Regions from separate parts of the Homo sapiens genome. Here region 2 is linked to region 1. The links are contacts of gene promoters, found by promoter capture Hi-C in blood cells and fetal thymus (Javierre and others, 2016). All regions are on one chromosome and are shown on one strand. Each heading gives the region's core, a stretch centred on a gene start or on the middle of the fragment in contact. The rest is flanking DNA. Distances are from core to core; before and after follow the strand shown.

Region 1 (6,901 bases), core at 1,517-4,016:
CTGGCATGACAGCCTGAGGGGCGTCCCAGCAACACCAGCACACTCCAAGGCACGCAGTGAGCACTCAGGAAAATCCCAATCCCTCTGCCAAAAGGCCCAGATCCTTTCACCTGTTCCTCTCGGATGACCCTCAACATTTCTGCCGAGTGTTGACTGATCTCTGCTCCTGCACAGTTGAGCCTGACTTATCTCCATCACCCCAAAGCACCCTGTGTGTGTGTGTGTATGTGTGTGTACACAACTCCTATGCTCAGCCCCACTGCCACGCCCTGGGCCCCCGCTCAAGCTTCATCATCCCTCCTTGGTCTCTCCAGATGCAGCATCGTCAGATGGAGCTTATTACACGGTAAGCACCATTCCGTCCATGCCCCTGCTCAGAACTCTCAACACTCTCCAGCCCCTTGGACCCAGAATAAGGTCCAAACTCCTGAGCCGGACATGCAAGCCCTTTCTGTGACACTCAGCTGATGTGGGGCAGGGGTGGAGATGAACTCAAGCAACATTGTTCAGTGGAGACTCTGCAGACATTGGAGCAGGGGGCTTTTTCCTGACTGCTACTTTGCACAATGTCCCCTCTACTGAAAAAGGGCTTTTCCCTCTTCTCTCCTGGAAAATTCTGACTCACCCTTCAATGCCCAGCTCACATGCCCTCTCCTCTGGGAAGCCTTTCCTTTTCCCTCCACAATTCAAGTGTCTAAAGTTCTGGCCTCCAAGGCCCTCTTAGCTATTCTCATCCCTCTGCAGCATAACTGGAATCCATGTCTCTGTCTCCCACCAGGCTGGGACCTCCCTTGGCAGAGGTCCAATCCCCGTCTCTGAGCCCAGTGCCCAGTACAGAACCAAGGACTGAGGTGTCCGTGAAGGTGCGTCAAGCAACTCATGAGAGACATGTGACAGCAAGATGAGAGAAAACCAAAGATGTAACCACAAAAGTACCTTCCAGAAACTGGCCTAACCTTTGGTCCAGTCACCACCCCCTCCTTTGCCCAGGCCTGGTCTTGCATATCAAAAACCCTGAAAATCTTAAACATCAGTCAAGAAAGCCCCTACAGAGGTCACTGGACTGGACTGAGGCTTTAGCCATTCTAGAAATTGTTCAAACAACCAAAGCAAAAGAAAAAGCACAAAACAAAAACAAAACAAAACAAAACAAAAATCTGTTCCTGGTTAGCCTTCAGGTCAAAAGCTCACAGAATCTCCTAGGACCTGAGAAGAAGGCTTCATGGTGTTACTCAACCTCTCCCTGCTCCAGGTCAGAGCAGCCCCTCCCAGCCTCTGCTCAGCACCTAAGAGCTGAGGAGCACATTTCCTCCCCTCTCTGACCCTCGAAGCCAGCCTCCCTCCTTTGACTCCCCTGGGAGCCAGAGCTTCCTTGGGGGTACCAGGCTGCCCCTCCCGACACCAGGTGGTGCCCTCCATCTCTGGCCCCTCAGGTGTCTGAATGGCAGCATCTCTCTAGGTATTTTTTAACTGAACTTCTACCCAAGGCAACCCTGGGAAGAAGTGCTTCACCCTACTCCGGGAGGCCCATGTCTGGGCCACCAAACTGTCTCCTGGAAAGAAAAAGAAAAAAGGGTTTCACTGGTAAAAAGCAGCTGCTCTTCCTCAAAGGATAAGGAGGAGAGAGAAGGGAAGAAAGCAGGAGCAGCTATTCCTCCTCAGGAACCCACCACACACACCTATCCCTGCGGGGCCACCCCTCACAAACCTGTGAGGGCCGCACTCCACCCCAAGCTTTCTGGAAGGAAGGGCACCAAGCTGACACATCAGGGTCTCCGGTTTGCAAGGGCCAGGGCCGTAAGAGGGGGTTGGGGAGGGTATCCCAGGGCCCAGCACACTGAGAATAGGAAAAGCCCATTCCAAGCAATGGTGGCCTCGGGCCCCCCAGTTTGTGCCACCTCCCTCCCTCCAGTGCACCCGCGCCCAGCCCACGCTTGAGCTGGAGGGCCCCACGAAAAGCCAGCAAGCGAATGTACTAGGTACTGGGTGCGAATGCCCTCTTACCTGAAAGGGGAGGGAGCAGGATCACTTCGACATACAATTGATGAAGGGAGGGGATTAATGCCCAGAGAGGAATAGCTACTCGCCCAAGGTCACACAGTGAGGCCCAGGAGGCCCAGGATGCACCCAGATCTCCCGACTCCCAGCCCTGGGCTCGCAAGTCCAGGGTTCTCGAAAGGCCAGGGTGCAGACACCGCCCCCCAAAGACAGTCACACGCCCCCAACCCCCTTACCTCCCGGACCCCGGTGGGCCAGAGCCGGCTGCTGGGCGGGGCGCTCAGGCCGGGCAGGACGAGGCTGGGCCCGGCTAGGTCAGGGCTGGTCCTCTGCTCCCCCCAGGGTGGGGACGCCCTCAGCCAGGTCCCAGACGGAAGAGATGCTGCTTCCACTGCAAAATCCAGTCTTCCCACCCCGCCTGGCACAAGCCTCTATGTATCCAGGAAGCCCGACTCTGCGGCGCGGCCCCGGGGCTGCGGGATGAAGCATGGGGAGGGGCGAGGTGCGTGAAATGGGGCGGAGCCGGAGCGGGGGCCACCCCGCGAGCTGCCACTCTGACCGCGTCCCCTTTAAGGCCAGCCGGCCGGACACCGGCGGGGACGAGGCGGGGCGCAGAGCAACTCGCTGCAATGCCTCCTGGGAGATGGAGTTCGCTCTCGACGCGCCGAGCTGCGAGGAGCCCAGAGAGAACTACCAGTCCCGGAAGGCAGCGCACAGACCCCGGACCGCCACGCCCCTGGGCTGGGCTCCTACCCTCCGCCCCCCTCGCAAAGCTGCGCTGGCCGCTCGCGGAGGGAGAGGCTGCAGAGCGAGGGCAGGAGGTGGGTGCGGCACGGCCGGGGTCGCGGGGCTCGGGGACTACCGGCGAGGGTACGTGGGCCCACTGAGCACCTGTCTTACCATGAGACTAATCTATCCCAGCCTCGCCATTCCCATCTGTGAAATGGGGATGGCATCGCCTGTGGTGCGGGGGAGGGGGCGCGTTTCGGAGCGAGGTGAGCCGAAGTGGGCAGAGCTCTTAGAGGGGCGGGGCTGTTGGGAGAGCAAGGGCGGATGGTGATAGTCGGAAAAGCCCGGATAATGAGGGTCGGGACTGTGGGAGGAGTCCTTGGTGGGTGGGGCAAGGAGAGGCGGGATCTCTAGGTGGGGGTGGGGCACTTGTCAGGTCGGAGTGGGGGCTGTAGGGCTGGGGAGTGGGTGCGGAACAAGCCGATGAGGCCAGCCTGGGTGAGATTGGGGAAGGAAGGGCGGAGACACAGATGACAGGGAACTTGCCCCGCTCTGGAGAGCCCTGGGCCGGCCGCGCTGTGGCGGCGTGGGCAAAAGCCTGTGATGCATAGAACACCTCCCTTTACTGACTGGAAATAAAGAGTCCATCCCCGAGTTCAGTGCGGCACACCAGTGATCTCATTGACCTCCCACGCCCTGAAAAGTAGAGGCGTCACTATAGCGGTTGACAGGTGAGGAATGTGAGGCTCAGAAAAGCGAAGGGACTTGCCTAAAACCACTCAGGACTCCTTACTTCAAAGACCTTGCTTTTCTCCCTGCACTCGGGGAGGCAGAGGTTTAGCTTGGCGTGGGAGGCAGGAAAGAAAAGTTTTGATGCCCCGACCTTCGCAAATTGTCTGGCAGGACCAGTCCCCCCAACCCTTCCGAATGACAGCCTGTAAGGCAGCCCTCCTATAGTACTGTGAGGATGAAATGAGATGGATTTGAAAGCACGGTGTTTATAAATTACTGTTTGGAGGAGACATAGGAAGAGAGCGGTTTGAAATGGGGTGCTGGTGCCGGAGGAAAAGCACAAGGTGAAGCGTGAGAGTGAGCCGAGAAGGTGAAGGAAAGTTCTGGAAGGGGCTGGGGGATGGTAGTGGTTGTTGGAGGTCTACGCCAGATGAAAGAATACCTTGCCGTGCCAGATTCCGTGGTCTCCTTCTTCCAGCCCACCTTTCTCTCCTCCTGCCTTTTGCGCAGCTCATTCTGGGGTCCCTGTGTCTAGGAAGCACCTTTTCTCTCCTCCCTATGGGTTGTGATGGTAATAGAGCAGCCTTCGGATTTCTTAGAGATATGGACTGGGCAAGACAGAATTATAGACGCAGCTCTTTGATGTGGGGTGGTCAGGAAGAGGAGGTGAAGAAAGGGTAGTCGTCCTAGGGGCTTCAAGGCAAAGAGTCCTTTCTCCGGTGGGGTAAGGTGGGGAAGTCTCCCACTTACTGGAAAACACAGTACTCACTCTGAGCATTGTCTTTTTTGAAATTTACCCAGCCACGTGCTGTCCATTCCCTTACGCAGTGGAAACTCTCCTTGCATTTACTCCCAAGTAATCACCTCGGCCTTGTCACATCCCTTTAGATTCCAGATTGAAAATTGAACAGAGCATTTCAAAATTAAAAAGTTTTGAAAATCCAGGTGGGGAAAATGGATCTGACTAAACAGGAGAGAAATTTCTTCCTCTTCCCCTATTCTACGTGCTTCTGTGGATATAGAAAGGGGCACCCCCAGCCCCAGCAAGGGAGCCAGGCATCCATCTACTTAAGTAAAGTTGGCTGTGGTAAGGGGTTAGACTAAAATTCTCCGCAGATGCAGAGGAGAAGGAATGAATTCCAGCTGAGAGACCTGGCCGATGCATGGGATTTGTCTTCAAGGTCCAGGCAGAGGGGATGGCAGATGCCAAATTGCAGAAGTCGAAGAGGGCCCAGTATGGTTGGTCTGTAAAGTAGGTATATAATAGTATCTACTTAATCTGTGAGATTGAAAGAGATTAACATGTATAGAGTGCCTAGCACGGTAGTAACTGCTCAATAAACGTTAGCCATTATTATTGCCGTTGTAGTGTTTGTTGTTGTTATGATCATCATCATCTGCCCAGGAACGTGCCCAGGGCTGCACAGCTAGTAAGTGGCAGGGGATGATTCAAATGCAAACCCAGGTAATGCCGAATACCATGCATGGTCTGCCCCTACCCCACACAGCCTCTCCAGTTCTTTTCTTTTTTTTTTTTTTTTTTTTTTTTTTTTTTTTTTTTGAGACAGGGTCTTACTCTGTTGCCCAAGCTGGAGTGCAGTGGCGTGATCTCGGCTTGCTGCAGCCTGACCTCCCAGGCTCAAGCGATCCTCCTACCTCAGCCTGTGCAGCTGGGACTGCAAGCACGTGTTACCATGCCCAGCTAATTTTTTTTTTTCTCTATAGAAACGAGGTCTCATTATGTTGTCCAGGTGGTCTCAAACTCCTGAACTCAAGCGATCCTCCCACCTGGGCCTTCCAAGTGCTGGGATTACAGGCATGAGCCACTGAGCCTGGCCTGTCTCCAGTTCTTTCTGCCCATCCTTGACATTTCTGAGGCCCAGGAGTGGCCTCTCTTTGTCAACATTCACAGTGAGTCATGACAGGAGTTTCTTTCCTGCCGAGTTACAGAGATTCTGGGTTCATGATGAGGCAGGAAAAACAAGGCCTGAACAGCCATCTTCTTCCAGGCAGAATCACAGCACAGAAGATAGGCAGACCTGGCCGGGCGCGGTGGCTCACGCCTGTAATCCCAGCACTTTGGGAGGCTGAGGTGGGTGGATCATTTGAGGTCAGGAGCTTGAGACCAGCCTGGCCAACGTGGTGAAACCCCGTCTCTACTAAAAATACAAAAATTAGCCGGGCATGGTGGCACGCACCTGAAATCCCAGCTACTCAGGAGGCTGAGGCAGGAGAATCACTTGAACCTGGGAGGCAGAGGTCGCAGTGAGCCAGGATCACGCCACTGCACTCCAAACTGGGTGACAGAGCGAGACTCTATCTCAAAAAAAAAAAATAGGCCTAGTGGTGTGGTTTCTGTGGGTGGTGGCTCTATCCAGACTGCCCACCCAGGCTTAGATTCTAACTCCTCCACCACTTAGCCCTGGTTGGCATCCTCACCCTTCAAAATTCAGAAACACTTGGGAAGGAAAATTATGAGCTTTTCACACTTCTAAGTAGTAGTAGTAAATCTGTAACTTACTAAATCTGGCGACTTATTGGGGTCTGGCACAATGACTGTAACTTTACATCTATTGGCCCTATGAAGAAGTGTTCTTCCCCCCTCTTTTAAAATACAAATATTTTTAAAATTTTCAAGCTTACATAAAAGCTTAAAGTACAACCCTTAACCTAGATACGCCAAATCACAATTTGCCAATTGTGCTTTTACACAAACACACACTTTTTTGGCCCAATTATTTAAAAGTAAGTTACAGATATGTTGATTGACGTTTGACCCCTAAATTCTTCAACATGTATCCCCTAATAAGGGCGTTCTACTACATAGCCATAATACATTATATGTAATAAGCAAGAAGTCAGTATTACCCAATGTAATAGTTATTCAAAATTTTCTGCCAGGTGCAATGGGTCATGTCTATAACCCCAGCACTTTGGGAAGCAAAGGCAGACAGATTGCTTGAGCCCAGGAGTTCAAGGCCAGCCTGGGCAACATAGTGAAACCCCATCTCTACAAAAACTACAAAATTTAGCATGGTGTGGTAGCGTGCACCTGTAGTCCCAGCTACTTGGGAAAATCACCTGAGCCTGGGGATGTCAAGGCTGCAGTGAACCATGATCGCGCCACTGCACTCCAGCCTGGGCGACAGAGTGAGACCCTGTCTCAAGAAAAAAAAAATTCTAATTGCCCAAAAATACCTTATATAGTTTCTGGTTTTTAAAATCAGATCCAGTCAAGATGTACATATTGCATCCTATTATATCTCTTTTATCAACTCATTTAATCTAAATAGAGCCCCTTGGCATGGTAGCTCATGTCTGTAATCCCAACATTTTGGGAGGCTGAGGTGGGCAGATCACTTGAGGTCAGGAGTTCGAGACCAGCCTGGCCAACATGGTGATACCCCATCTCAAGTAAAAATACAAAAATTAGCCGGACATG
Region 2 (6,901 bases), core at 2,073-4,572, 100 kb before region 1:
GCCCTTTGTCAGATGAGTAGATTGCAAAAATTTTCTCCCATTCTGTAGGTTGCCTGTTCACTCTGATGGTAGTCTCTTTTGCTGTACAGAAGCTCTTTAGTTTAATTAGATCCCATTTGTCAATTTTGGCTTTTGTTGCCATTGCTTTTGGTGTTTTAGACATGAAGTCCTTGCCCATGCCTATGTCCTGAATGGTATTGCCTAGGTTTTCTTCTGGGGTTTTTATGGTTTTAGGTCTAACATTTAAGTCTTTAATCCATCTTGAATTAATTTTTGTATAAGGTGTAAGGAAGGGATCCAGTTTCAGCTTTCTACATATGGCTAGCCAGTTTCCCCAGCACCATTTATTAAATAGGGAATCGTTTCCCCATTTCTTGTTTTTGTCAGGTTTGTCAAATGGCGATCATTAAAAAATCAGGAAACAACAGGTGCTGGAGAGGATGTGGAGAAATGGGAACACTTTTACACTGTTGGTGGGACTGTAAACTAGTTCAGCCATTGTAGAAGTCAGCGTGGCGATTCCTCAGGGATCTTGAACTAGAAATGCCATTTGACCCAGCAATCCCATTACTGGGTATATACCCAAAGGATTATAAATCATGCTACTATAAAGACACATGCACCTGTATGTTTATTGCAGCACTATTCACAATAGTAAAGACTTGGAACCAACCCAAATGTCCAACAACGATAGACTGGATTAAGAAAATGTGGCACATATACACCATGGAATACTATGCAGCCATAAAAAATGAGTTCATGTCCTTTGTAGGGACATGGATGAAGCTGGAAACCATCATTCTCAGCAAACTATCGCAAGGACAAAAAACCAAACACCGCATGTTCTCACTCATAGATGGGAATTGAACAATGAGAACACATGGACACAAAAAGGGGAACATCACACACCAGGGCCTGTTGTGGGGTGGAGGGAGCGGGGAGGGGATAGCATTAGGAGAGATACCTAATGCTAAATGAGGAGTTACTGGGTGCAGCACACCAACATGGCACATGTATACATATGTAACTAACCTGCACGTTGTGCACATGTACCCTAAAACTTAAAGTATAATAAAAATAAAAATAAAAAAAGACTCATATTTCATCAATATCCATCTTTTAACCTGCTTGCATGCTCTCGCTCTCCCTCACTCTCACACGTACTCTTTTTCTCTTGCTCTCTCTCGGTTGGCTGTTCTTAGGCGACAAATAGTGGTTCCTGCAACTTCAGGGAAATATTGTGACAACCCTTTGTCCAGTGACACAGCCAGTTTGAGTAACACAAAACAAAGGTCCTGGAGTTGAATCTTAATGACTCTGAGCTGGCTTGGAACATAACGCTTGTCGCTAAACTGATCACAGTGGCATGTAGGATGAAATGGTGCAAATTGGCTTAATCTAGATTACCATGATCTACTCCTTGAAGCCTATAGTTGGAGTCAGCTTTATATAAAGGATTCTAGGTGATCTTTTGTGTTTATGGTGTCTGTGTACCATCTTACCTGGAATAGAGATTGTGTTAAATTAACAGATCATCTGACTGAGAGGTTTTTTTCCCCCAAAACAGAAGCAAATAAACATTATTTTGTTCCTTTGGTATAACTTTCATTGAACAGTTATATAGTGCTTTGGAAGTATCAAGTCCTGTGCTAAATAAATGCTGGAGATACAAAAGCCCCTGACCTCAGAATGTCATAGTCTTGGGGTAAGAAAAAATTCATTCTGTGCCCGAGGAGCAAATAAGTTCCTTTAGAGTCCGAGGGAAACTGTACTTATCTGCCCTTTCTCAGATGAATGAGTCCAGAACAAATACAGTTAACTATGCTGCTCTCTTCTAGGGGATCTGCATTTGAGGAGTGGAAATAACTTTGGACTAGGAGCTGAGGCCTAGATTCTAGTTGCATTATTGCCATCTGCCATCACCAATTAACTATAAACTTGAATTCATAAACTCTGTGGCCAGTGTTTCTCAAAGTGTAGTGAGCAATTCATCTGCAGTAGCTTCACCTCAAGTTCTTTGTGGGTCTGGACCCACAGAATAAGAAGATCTTGGGCTGTGGTCTCTGTAAGTTGTTTAATCTCTATGAACTTCTTTTTCCTCACCTGTTAAGAGGATCCTATTTACCTTGCAGCATTTGTTAAAGGATTAAATGTGATAATGAGTAGAAAGCACATGGCAGGTAGCAAGAGCTCAGCAAATACACTTTTAAAAATTTCCTCAGAGAGTATAAAGTCTCTATGGTCCAGAGTAGTCGAAGGATTGCTAGAGGAAGGATAGCAAAAAGCCTTTCCTCGCTCAGGAAGTGTGCCTTCAAAAATGTGTAACTGTTACATGACTCCCACTGTACTCTTGTAATGTTTGCTGTTAACTATTATGGGACACGAGACTGGCATAGTAGCTTCGTGTTGAAATATATTAGGATAGACTTGTACATCATATGTTCAGAAGTGAGATCAGATTCCCCTGTGTCTTTGTGTTTGTTTGAGCTAGAACTCAACCACATCACCACCTGAGAGTTGACAGTTGAAAATATTTCTAAACCTCCAGAATCTTCTATCTTCTGCCCTGACTTTGGTATACCAAAGATAACAGAACTCTTCTTTGATGACTAAGGACTTCTCAAGGTCTCAAATCATCTTTTCTGATACCAAATCTCACGTGCCTTGTGGCTAAGGTTGTAGAAGGGGCAAGACATTACTTGGAAGAGGCTTTTGCGAAACTCCTGGAATAGGCGTGTCCTTTTAACTTCCCGCTTTCTGAAGAGGGTAAAACCAAAAACTGCCAGTAAACCTAGAGAATCCTATGAAGTGAGGTTTATGGTTAATCTGAATCTAACTGAGGTTACTGGGTGATACCTATAATTTAAACCTGTTAGGCGGGTATATGAAGAACATAACAGTTGTATCTTCAAAAAGCTCTTTGCCTTATTTTTTAAAAATTCACCAATAACAAAGACTGACTCTCTCTCTCTCACACACACACACACACACACACACACCCCTACACACCTCTTAGTGAAGCTCCCAGGTGGAGATGTGGTTATTCAGAAGAACACATCCCTCTGTTCTAAGAATCTGAGTAATCTGATTAAATGAGGTGTTACCATATCATGTTTTCTTAGTTAAAAAATACATAAGGGGCTGGGTACAGTGGCTCATCTGTAATTCCAGCACTTTGGGATGCTGAGGTGGGAGAATTACTTGAGCCTATGAATTTGACATTAGCCTAGCCAGCATAGTGAGACTCCATCTCTAAAAAAAAAAATTAACTGGGTATGATGGCGCATCCTGTGATCACAGCTAAATGGGAGGCTGAGGTAGGAGGATCGCTTGAGCCTAGGAGGTCGGGGCTACAGTGAGCCATGTTTGCGCCACTGCACTCCCGTCTGGGCAACAGAGGGAGACCCTGTCGCAAAAAAAAAAAAAAAAAAAAAAAAAAAAGAAAAAGAAAAAAGTAAGTCTCTCAAGATAGGGGAGAATAGACCTTAGGTAGTCTCTTGTCCATCTATTGATCTACTCTTTTTTTTTTTTGAGACAGAGACAGAGTCTTGCTCTGTTGCCCAGGCTGGAGTGCAGTGGTGCGATCTCCGCTCACCGTAAGCTCTGCCTCCCAGGTTCAAGCCATTCTTCTGCCTCAGCCTCCCGAGTAGCTGGGACTACAGGTGCTCGCCACCACGCCTGGCTAATTTTTTTTTTTTTTTTTTTTTTGTCGTTTTAGTAGAGACGGTTTCACCGTATTAGCCAGGATGGTCTCAATCTCCTGACCTCGTGATCTGCCTGCCTCGGCCTCTCAAAATGCTGGGATTACAGACGTGAGCCACCACGCCCAGCCTTGATCTACTCTTTGAGCCCTTCTTCTGTCACACTCCCCAACCTTCCCACCCTTTGTTTAGGCCAGGAGTCAACAAACAAATCCTGCCACCACTTCTTTTTCTAAGCAGTTTTATTGGAACACAGCCATGCCTGTTTGCTTATGAATTGTGTATGGTTGCTGTCATGCCACTATAGAACTGAGTAGTTATGACAGAGAAAATATGACCTGTAAAACCCAAAATATTTGCTAACATCCTTAACAAAGTTTGCTGATCCCTCACCTTGCCTCTTTCTTCAAAATCTCCAGTGTTGAGTATTCTCCAGTTTCCAAGAGACCTGCTTTGGACCACTCATTTAGAAAGTTCTTACGTTCTAAAAAAAATAAAATTTGGTTTTCCGTAGACTGCTCCTGCTGGTACTTGTTCAACTTGAGTATGTTGAGTAACTAAAAATAAATCAAATCGCTCTTCCACATATTGGCGGCCCTTTATATCTTAGAACAACACTATGATCATGACTCCAGGCAGAATCTTGCAGAATCCTGGTGTGATAAACTTTCACGGGCCTTCATTGTCACCAGAAGGGAGCATAACACTCTTGCACAGCTAAATTGTGGCCCACCTAGGTTTTCTGGGCGCCAAGAGCAATAAGAGGAAGTTATAGCCTCATTCTACATGCTTGAAGACCTTGAGATCTAACCCAAAGGATAGAGACAGGTTCATGTGACATGTACTGTCTGTTCAACAGCTAGGAGTGATGCAACTTCCAGGTCATATGTACCCACACTTTGTGGTCTTGATGGTTGTGAAATGGTTTGTTTTCTGACAGAAGGAAAACAGTCACTTCTATTTCATCAGAGATGGGAGTGGCATACCCTTGATCCTAGACACAAATTCTTTTTTCCAACTTTCTTGACAGTAGACCCTATCCATATACTTCTTTAAGCCCCACTGTTAAGTAAAGTGACTTTCATTGTCTTTTGTCTCCGTTATTACTACCCTAATTTAGATTGCCATCTTCTCTCACCATTGCAGACTATCGCAACAGCTTCTTAATTGTTTTCTTGTCTCTTATTTTTTATTTTTCTGGTTTGTCTCCCGCACTTTGCCAGATGAGAGCACAGCATTGGTTAACATTTCTCTGCTGATCTATACTCTTCAATGGCTCCCCGTTACAAATAAAGGAAAGATGAAACTTCTTAGGGTGGCATTCAAGGCTTTTCAGGACCTCCAAACTCTTCCTTTCCTCCCTCTTTTCCATATTGAGAAGACTGTGCCATATTCTCTGAACCTATTTTATCTGTTCCCATGCCCAGGCCTTGGTCATTGGTCATACTGTATGTTGTATTTAAAAAAAAAAAAAAAAAAAAAAAAAAGGTCCTGTTCTTCCTTTCCAAAACCGCATATCAAACCCTACCTTCCTCATTGTTTGTGTTCATTGCTCCTTCTCTCTCGTGCATGTTTGCTTTCTCTCATGCTGTTTCTCTCTCTTAACCCTGAAAGTTTGATTCCCTGCTTCAGTGGTCTACTAGCGTATTATGTCTTTTTTTATGGTGCTTACAAAAAAATCTTCTAGTTTTAGGGATATATATTAATGTCTTAACTTCCTGAAACTTTGTAAATATTGTAAGTTACTTCAAAGGAGTATTTTTGGGCCTTGCCTCTTTATCTGTCAAAGCATTCAACACATTTTGTGTTTGTTTTTACTGAATTCTATACAAGGAGCTTGTTGATTTCTCATGAAATGTACCTTAGATCCCAAAGATTTTCACCTTTTTTTCTAAACGTTTTATAGTTTTACATTTTACGTTTAAGTCCATGATTCATTCTGAGTTAGTTTTTGTATAAGATGTGAGACTTAGATTAAGGTCTTTACTCCCCTATGGATGCTTGATTGCTTTGGCACCATTTCTTGAAAAGGCCTTTTCTTTTCTTTTTTATATTAAAATTTTTAGTAGAGACAGGGTTTTGCCATGTTGGCCAGGCCAATCTCGAACTCCTGGCCTCAAGTGATCCACCTACCTTGGCCCCCCAAAGTGCTGGGATTACAGGCACGAACCATGACAACTAGCTGTTTTCTTGATTGAATTGCTTTTACACGTTTGTGAAAAATCAGTTGGGCATATTGTGAGGGTCTGTTTCTGGGTTTTCTGTTCTAATCCATTGTTCTTCACTTGATCTTAGCCAAACGGCCAAGAATTGATCTATTCCACTTTTCTGTGTCTGTCTCTTCGCCAGTGCTACACAGTCTTGATTGTTGTAGCTATATAATAAGTCTTAAAATCTGGCAGACTGATTCTTCCCATTTTATTTTTCAGAATTATTTTAGCTATTGTGCTTCCTTTGCCTTTTCATATACATTTTAGAACAATCTTACGTACATCTACAGACATTCTTGTGGGATTTTGATGGGAATTGTGTTAAATCTGTACGTCAGTTTGGGGAGATGCACCAAGTCGAGTTGTCCAATCCATGAATATGGTATGTCTCTTCATTTATTTAAGTCTCCTTTGATTTCTTTCATTAGCTTTGTATAGCTTTTAGCATACATGCCCTGCACAGCGATTTTTTTAGATTTATACCTTTTCAATTTTTAAGAACAATTATAAATGGCATTGTATTTTTATTTTATATGCCTGCATATTCATCGCTAGTTAGAAGTAAATTGATTTCTGTATGATTATCTTGTATCCTGTGACCTTGCTGAACTCACTTATTCGTCCTGAGAGTTTTGTTGGGTTTTGTTGTAGATTTTTTGTGTTTTTTCTTTTTCTTTCTTCTTCTTCTTCTTCTTTTTTTTTTTTTTTTCTTTGAGATGGAGTCTCACTCTGTTGCCCAGGCTGGAGTGCAGTGGCACCATCTCAGCTCACTGAAACCTCTACCTCCTGGGCTCAAGCAATTTTCCTGCCTCACCCTCCCTAGTAGCTTGGATTACAGGTACCCACCACCATGCCTAGCTAATTTTTGTATTTTAGTAGAGATGGGATTTCACCATGTTGGCCAGGCTGGTCTTGAACTCCTGACCTCAAGCAATCCACATGCCTCGGCCTCCTAAAGTACTAGGATTACAGGCATGAGCCACTGTGCCC

Evidence for each region. Contacts are between HindIII fragments. The CHiCAGO score rates a contact against its expected background, and 5 or more counts as called.
Region 2: a fragment that was not itself captured here is called in contact with the fragment with the promoter of KCTD21 in region 1 in 3 of 17 cell types (neutrophils, fetal thymus and activated CD4 T cells); the score reaches 6.9 in neutrophils.

The regions. Positions count from the first base shown.
Region 1 is chr11:78,184,491-78,191,391 of GRCh38, reverse strand. KCTD21 (potassium channel tetramerization domain containing 21) reads left to right here and starts at 2,766. Exons shown (of 2, transcript NM_001029859.3): 1 at 2,766-2,819. USP35 (ubiquitin specific peptidase 35) reads right to left here and starts at 2,473. Exons shown (of 11, transcript NM_020798.4): 1 at 2,235-2,473. RefSeq lists silencers at 2,120-2,279, 2,710-3,049. The HindIII fragment of the contact is 4,363 bases long and covers 1,737-6,099 here.
Region 2 is chr11:78,288,102-78,295,002 of GRCh38, reverse strand. The region is part of intron 1 of GAB2 (GRB2 associated binding protein 2); the gene reads left to right. Among named protein-coding and RNA genes, the nearest start is that of USP35, 100 kb to the right of the region's middle. RefSeq lists an enhancer at 4,446-4,740. The HindIII fragment of the contact is 9,513 bases long and covers 1-6,901 here.